Regions from separate parts of the Homo sapiens genome. Here region 2 is linked to region 1. Evidence: promoter capture Hi-C in 16 types of primary human blood cells and fetal thymus (Javierre and others, 2016). All regions are on one chromosome and are shown on one strand. Each heading gives the region's core, a stretch centred on a gene start or on the middle of the fragment in contact. The rest is flanking DNA. Distances are from core to core; before and after follow the strand shown.

Region 1 (3,296 bases), core at 784-3,283:
CCACCCTATTATTTCTCCCTCCTGATTCATGTTTACTGTATAAACACAGTGACTGCAAATATCTCTGAAAAGAACAGATCACCTGTTCTCCCGCCTCCCTAACATAAACTGTTTTAAGCTCTCCCTACAGTCTGTAGTTCCATGCCTATCTGTTTATGTTGCTGGACTAAGGCCCACCCAGGAGCAAGAATTAGGGCCCCTCAAGTATTCTCCAGACCCCTCCAAGCAGTACTTAACTGCACTCAGAGCCACCGGCTGTCTTGATGCAAACCTAGGTACCTCCTCCTAACTTTTCTTGTTTGTTTTTTTCTTTTTTTGAGACAGTGTCTCACTCTATTGCCCAGGCTGGTGTGTAGTGGCACAATCTCGGCTCACTGCAACCTCCACTTCCTCGGCTCAAGAGATCCTCCAACCTCAGCCTCCCAAGTAGCTGGGACCACGGGAGTGAGTCACCACACCTGGCTAATTTTTTTTTCTTTAACTTGTTGTTCAGAGGGGTTTCGCAATGTTGCCCAGGCTGGTCTCGAACTCCTGAGCTCAAAGCAGTCCACCCAAAGTACTGGGATTACCGTGAGTCATGGTATCCAGCCCCTCCCCCTAACTTTTCAATGGCTCTGCACTGCAATCAGAATAAAACCCAACTTCTTCCGGTGGCCCTTGGGTTCTGCAGGACCACTCTGGACTCATCTGTCACCATACTGCTCCGGCCATCCCCTCCATCCACTCATGCTCACTTTCCATTTCTCCACCAGGCTCTTTCTCAATTCTCACCCTTCTGGCCTCAGCTAAAATGCCATCTACTCCAGGCAGCCTTTCCTGACCACGCTACTGAGACTGGCCCCCTCCATTCTCCATCCCAGTCCCTCATGTGTGTTCTTCAATGTCGTTATGAAAACCTCCAATGCTCTTGTTTGTCTGCTTGCTGTCTCCCTCATGAGGCTACAAGTGCCACAGGGGAAGGAAAATGCCGTTGTGTTCACCGGGATGTCTCCAGCAGCTTAGCACAGCATAAAGTGGAAGCAGAGGAAATATAGTCCACACTACAAAAACGGAACCTCTACCCAGACTGCCCTGACTTGCTCTGGGACCCTGATGGGGTCACTTGAGGTCAACTCCTAGGCCCAGTTATCGGAGGACACTCCCAGGCCTTACAAATAACACGGAAAGCGGAAGAGCAGAGCTGACATCGTTTCCAAGGCGCACCCCTCATCAGTCCTCCTGCCGTTTCGGGGGTCCGAAGGGTCTCCCGGCACCTGGCTCAGCAATTCTTTGGGGCTCCACCTGCTCAGGCTTCCCCAGGCCCCACCCAGCCGTGGCAGCATCACCGAGATAAAGAAAGAGCTTGCGCCAGCGGCGAGAGGAGGAAGCACCGGCGGAAACCCGAGGGAGGGGCGCGTGCGGCCGAGGGGCTCCCTCCCCACCACTGACACACTTGGGCTCGCCGGGGCCAGAGGAGAGAGGGGCGTCTCCCCACAGCCCAGCCAGGGGCAGGGGCGACCCGGGGCGGCAGGGAGGAGGAGCCAGGCGCCGGCAGCGCCCCGAGCCCCGGCTCCCGGCGAGGCCGACCGGAAGCTGGGAAGGCAGGCGGCCTCGCAGGCCTGGGCCCCGGCTAGGAGGGCTGCGCCGCCTCGGGGGTCCCGGGGCGAGGTGGGCGAGGCGGGCAGACCGCCAGGGTCACCGAGCGCCAGAGCGAGTCACGGGAGTGCCGGACTCTGCCCTCCGGCGGCGACGAAACGGCCCGGACGCCGGGGCCCTGGCCTGAAGGGGGGTTCCCCGGGGATGGAGGTCTCGGGGTTCCAGACGGCCCTGGAGGGCACCCCTGTGGGGTCCGGGCAGGGGGAGGGGCAGCCGGACGGGGCCCGAGGCGACAGCGCCCGGTCCTCGGGCCGGACTCACCTCGCGGCGGGGCGGCCGAGCCTCGGTGTGCCGGAACTTGGACACCCTGAAGCGGTTCATGGCGACGGGCACGGCGGCGGACGCGTCTTCGAGGACCCCGGGCGTCGGGTCTCAGGTGCACGCTGAGCAACCGCGACTCCCGCTGCCTCGGCCCCACCCGGGACCCAATGCCGCGGTCACGCCCCCGGCGCGCCCCACTGCCAATCGCAGCCGTCTCCGGCCCCCTGGGCCACGCCCCCAAGCCCCTCTCCTTTCGCGCGCGCACCACCGGTCCCGCCTCCCGGCCAATCCAGGTACGGCCGCCCCGCGAGGCCACGCCCTGATACCGAGGGGACGGACTGGCGCGGGTGGGAGGTCACGTGGGGCGCAGCTGTCAGCCCACGTCTCCTGCGGTGCTTGCTTGCGTGGGGTCTCGGCTGCAGCATTCGCGATTTTGTGTGCAGGATTTGCTGTGGAGTCTTTGCGGTGTACCTAGCACGCCTTCCAGCACTATCTACCTCTTCCTGTAGAGAGGGGAGAAATTAGCTCCATTTCAGAGACAGGAAACCCCCGGCTAAAGGAGAGTGTAAACTGTCGGTCCCCAGGTCACACCAGTGGTAAGAGGCAGAGGGGGAACAGGGGCCCAGGTCTAAAGCAAATCCCTGTCCACCGGGCCTACTCAAAAGCCTCTGCATCCGGCCAGGCGCTCTGCATCCGGCCAGGCGCGGTGGCTCAGGTCTGTAATCCCGAACTTTGGGAGACTGAGGCAGGAGTATCCCTTGAGCCCAAGAGGTCGAGGCTGCAGTTATCTGTGACCGTGCCACTGCACTCCAGCCTGGGAGACAGAAAGAGACCCTGCCTCTAAAAATAATAATAATAATAGCTTTTAATTTTTCTTTAGTATTTATTCATTTATTTGACACGGAGTCCCTGTCACCCAGGCTGGAGTGCAGTGGCGCGATCTCAGCTCACTGCACCCTCTGCCTCGCGGGTTCAAGCAATTCTCTTGCCTCAGCCTCCCGAATAGCTGGGATTACAGGCGCCTGCCACCGCGCCCAACTAATTTTTTATTTTTAGTAAGAGACGGGGTTTCACCATGATGGTCAGGCTGGTCTCGAACGAGACTCAAGCAGTCCTCCCAACTTGGCCTGCCAAAGTGTGGGGATTATAGGAATGAGCCAACGCACCCAGCTGATTCTTGCATTTCTAAGGTTTGAAAAGCAATGCTTACATTTTATCTTAGTTCGGGCAGAAGTGTATTTACTGTGAACCAAAGTCACTTGTGGTTTATTGAAAAGGCTTTTTGTTTGTTTGTTTTGAGACAGAGTCTCACTCTGTTGCCCAGGCTGGAGTGCAGTGGTGTCATCTCAGCTCACTGCAACCTCCACCTCCTGAGTTCAAGCGATTCTCCTGCTTCAGCC
Region 2 (3,056 bases), core at 557-3,056, 380 kb after region 1:
TAGTAAAATAGAGAAAATAAGGACAGTGAAGAGTCCTAGTACAGCTGGCCTTCCGTATCCACAGGTTCCACATCTGTGGCTTCAGCCAACCACAGACAGAAAATATTTGGAAACAAATCACATCTCTATTGGACATGTACAGACTTTTTTGCTTACTGTTCCCTATACAATGTAACAATTATTTACCTAGCATACATTATATTAAATAAATATATGTATACAATTTTTTCTTGAGATGGAGTCTTGCTCTGTCACCCACGCTAGAGTGCAGTGGTGCCATCTTGGCTCACTGCAGCCTCTGCCTCCTGGGTTCAAGCGATTCTCCTGCCTTGGCCTCCCGATTAGCTGGGATTACAGGAGTATGCCACCGCACCCAGCCAATTTATTTTTTTTGAGATAGTCTTGCTCTGTCACCCAGGCGGGTGTGCGGTGACATGATCTTGGCTCACTACAGGCTCCGCCTCCTGGGTTCAAGCGATTCTCCTGCCTCAGCCTCCCAAGTAGCTGGGATTACAGGTGCCCGCCACCACAGCGGGGTAATTTTTGTATTATTATTATTTTTTGAGATGGAGTCTTGCTCTGTCACCCAGGCTGGAGTGCAGTGGCGAGATCTCGGCTCACTGCAATCTCTGCCTCCAGGGTTCAAGCAATTCTCCTGCCTCAGCCTCCTGAGTAGTTGGGACTATAGGCGCGTGCCACCATGGCCGGCTAATTTTTTGTATTTTTAGTAGAGATGGGGTTTTACCGTGTTACCCAGGATGGTCTTGATCTCCTGACCTTGTGATCCGCCTGCCTCGGCCTCCCAAAGTGCTGGGATTACAGGCATGAGCCACCACACCCGACCAATTTTTGTATTTTTATCTTTTTTTTTTTTTGAGATGGAGTTTTGCTCTTGTTGCCCAGGCTGGAGTGCAATGGCGTGATCTCGGCTCACCACAACCTCTGCCTCCCGGGTTCAAGTGATTCTCCTGCCTCAGCCTCCCTAGTAGCTGGGATTACAGGAATGTGCCACCACGCCTGGCTAATTTTGTATTTTTAGTAGAGACATGGTTTCTCCACGTTGGTCAGTCAGGCTGGTCTCAAACTTCTGGCCTCAGCTGACCCGCCTCTGCCTCCCAAAGTGCTGGGATTACAGGCGTGAGCCACTGCGCCCGGCCCAATTTTTGTATTTTTAGTAGAGGTGGGGTTTCGCCATGTTGGCCAGGACGGTCTCAAGCTCCTGATCTAAGTAAGTGATCTGCCCAACTTGGCCTTCCAAAGTGGTGGGATTACAGGTGTGAGCCACCAGGCCAGGCCAAATATATTAAGTATTATAAGTAATCCAGAGATGATTTAAAGTATAGAGTATATGCACAGGTTATATGCAAATACTGCCTCATTTTATATCAGGGAGTTTATAGCATCTGTGGATTTTGGTACCCACGGAGGTGCTGGAACCAATCGTTGAGGATTCCAAGGACAACTCTATGATGCAGGCACACCTGTCCTAGCTGCTCAAGGGTCGTGGGATGCAGGTAGGTTTTCTCCCCCTTCCCCCTCCCTCCCACCCACCTTCTCTCCCATCTCTCTCTCTTTCATTCACGAAGTCAGCAGTGGCCAAGCACACAGGTGTTCCCAGCTGCATATCTGGGATACTGAGGAAAGGTAAGAAGTCTCAGGAGTGAAGAAGCCACAGGCCGGCGTCTTCCTCCCTGGGCCTCCAGCAGTGGGGAGCCAGGGAGCGCACCTGCTGGGCCTGGGCCCTCTCCCCTGGGCTGGGCGGCCTCTGCTGGCCCTGGGGAGGGCGGGGCTGGTTGCCAAGGCCTCAGGTGGTGTGGAGCCGGAAGCAGGAAGCAGCCTGTGCTCCCCAGGACCTGCCTGGTTGGGGGAATTGGAGGCTTCTAGGAGGTAGGTGGGGGCCTGGGGGCTGGGCTGCCAGGGGGAGAGAGAGGGGAGATGACAGTGGCTGGGGAGAAGGTTGTCAGGGTAAGGACCACAGGGCTGGGCAAGGAGAGAAGCTGGGCCTGGGGCCGAGGGAGAAGTGGAGTGGGAGGGGGTGGGGAAGCTGGCGCTGGGCCAGGAGCGGGCAGTGGCTGGGCTGTGGGAAGCCTGGATGTGGTCCCCGCTGAGCTGAGCCCAGGATCCTGATGCAGCCTCTGGGGGACCGGGGCAGGTGGCACGGTGCACGCCAAGATGGCTGTGTCCACAGAGGAGCTGGAGGCCACGGTTCAGGAAGTCCTGGGGAGACTGAAGAGCCACCAGTTTTTCCAGTCCACATGGGACACTGTTGCCTTCATTGTTTTCCTCACCTTCATGGGTAAGTGTGGCTGTGGCCTCTGGGTCCTCCCAGCCCCCTGCCCTGGGCTCCAGGTTGGGGCCACACCTGGACGCCTGTCCTGTCCCCAGGCACCGTGCTGCTCCTGCTGCTGCTGGTCGTCGCCCACTGCTGCTGCTGCAGCTCCCCCGGGCCCCGCAGGGAAAGCCCCAGGAAGGTGAGCCCCTGGAAGGTGAGCCCTGCCGGCCTCTGGGACCTGCACGGAACTGTACTGGGGGTGGAGGCGGAAGGTGAGGGGAGTGGCGGGAAGGGTGCTCATCCCCCTAGGGAACAACGAGCGAACCTGCTTGGTCCCGCTGTGCTTCTCGTGCAGGAAAGACCCAAGGGAGTGGATAACTTGGCCCTGGAACCCTGACCCTGTGTCTCCTGCCCGGTGGCAGTAACAAAGCCTTCTGTCTGCCCAGAGCCTGAGTCTGCAGTGTCTTCCAGTCCCCGTCTGGGTGGGTGACGCGGGACTCGCCGCCCCACTCAGGTGGCCACCTGGCCTCTCCAAGCCTTCAGTCAGCACGACTGTGCCAGGTCATCCTCAGTCACCTAGCTGGGAGGGGAGCTGGTCTCAGGCCGGGCGCGGTGGCTCACACCTATAATCCCAGCACTTTGGGAGGCCGAGGTGGGCGGATCACGAGGTCAGGAGATCGAGAACATCCTGGTTAACGTGGTGAATCCCCGTCTCTACTAAAAATACAAAAAATTAGCCGGGCGTGGTGGCGGGCACCTGTAGTCCCAGCTACTCGGGAGGCTG

The links. The method cuts DNA at HindIII sites, captures the fragments that hold promoters and counts their contacts. A CHiCAGO score of 5 or more calls a contact.
Region 2: the fragment with the promoter of SMIM22 here is called in contact with the fragment with the promoter of CORO7 in region 1 in 1 of 17 cell types (neutrophils); the score reaches 8.7 in neutrophils.

Annotation. Positions count from the first base shown.
Region 1 is chr16:4,414,563-4,417,858 of GRCh38, forward strand. It overlaps CORO7 (coronin 7), which reads right to left and starts at 2,034. Exons shown (of 28, transcript NM_024535.5): 1 at 1,897-2,034. The coding sequence starts at 1,956. It overlaps CORO7-PAM16 (CORO7-PAM16 readthrough), which reads right to left and starts at 2,034. Exons shown (of 31, transcript NM_001201479.2): 1 at 1,897-2,034. The coding sequence starts at 1,956. LOC124903635 (a long non-coding RNA gene) reads right to left here. Exons shown (of 3, transcript XR_007064963.1): 3 at 2,163-2,399. The HindIII fragment of the contact is 33,533 bases long and covers 1-3,296 here.
Region 2 is chr16:4,793,563-4,796,618 of GRCh38, forward strand. It overlaps SMIM22 (small integral membrane protein 22), which reads left to right and starts at 1,807. Exons shown (of 4, transcript NM_001253794.2): 1 at 1,807-1,887; 2 at 2,153-2,296; 3 at 2,386-2,486; 4 at 2,628-2,929. The coding sequence starts at 2,173. The coding sequence ends at 2,669. The HindIII fragment of the contact is 14,181 bases long and covers 1-3,056 here.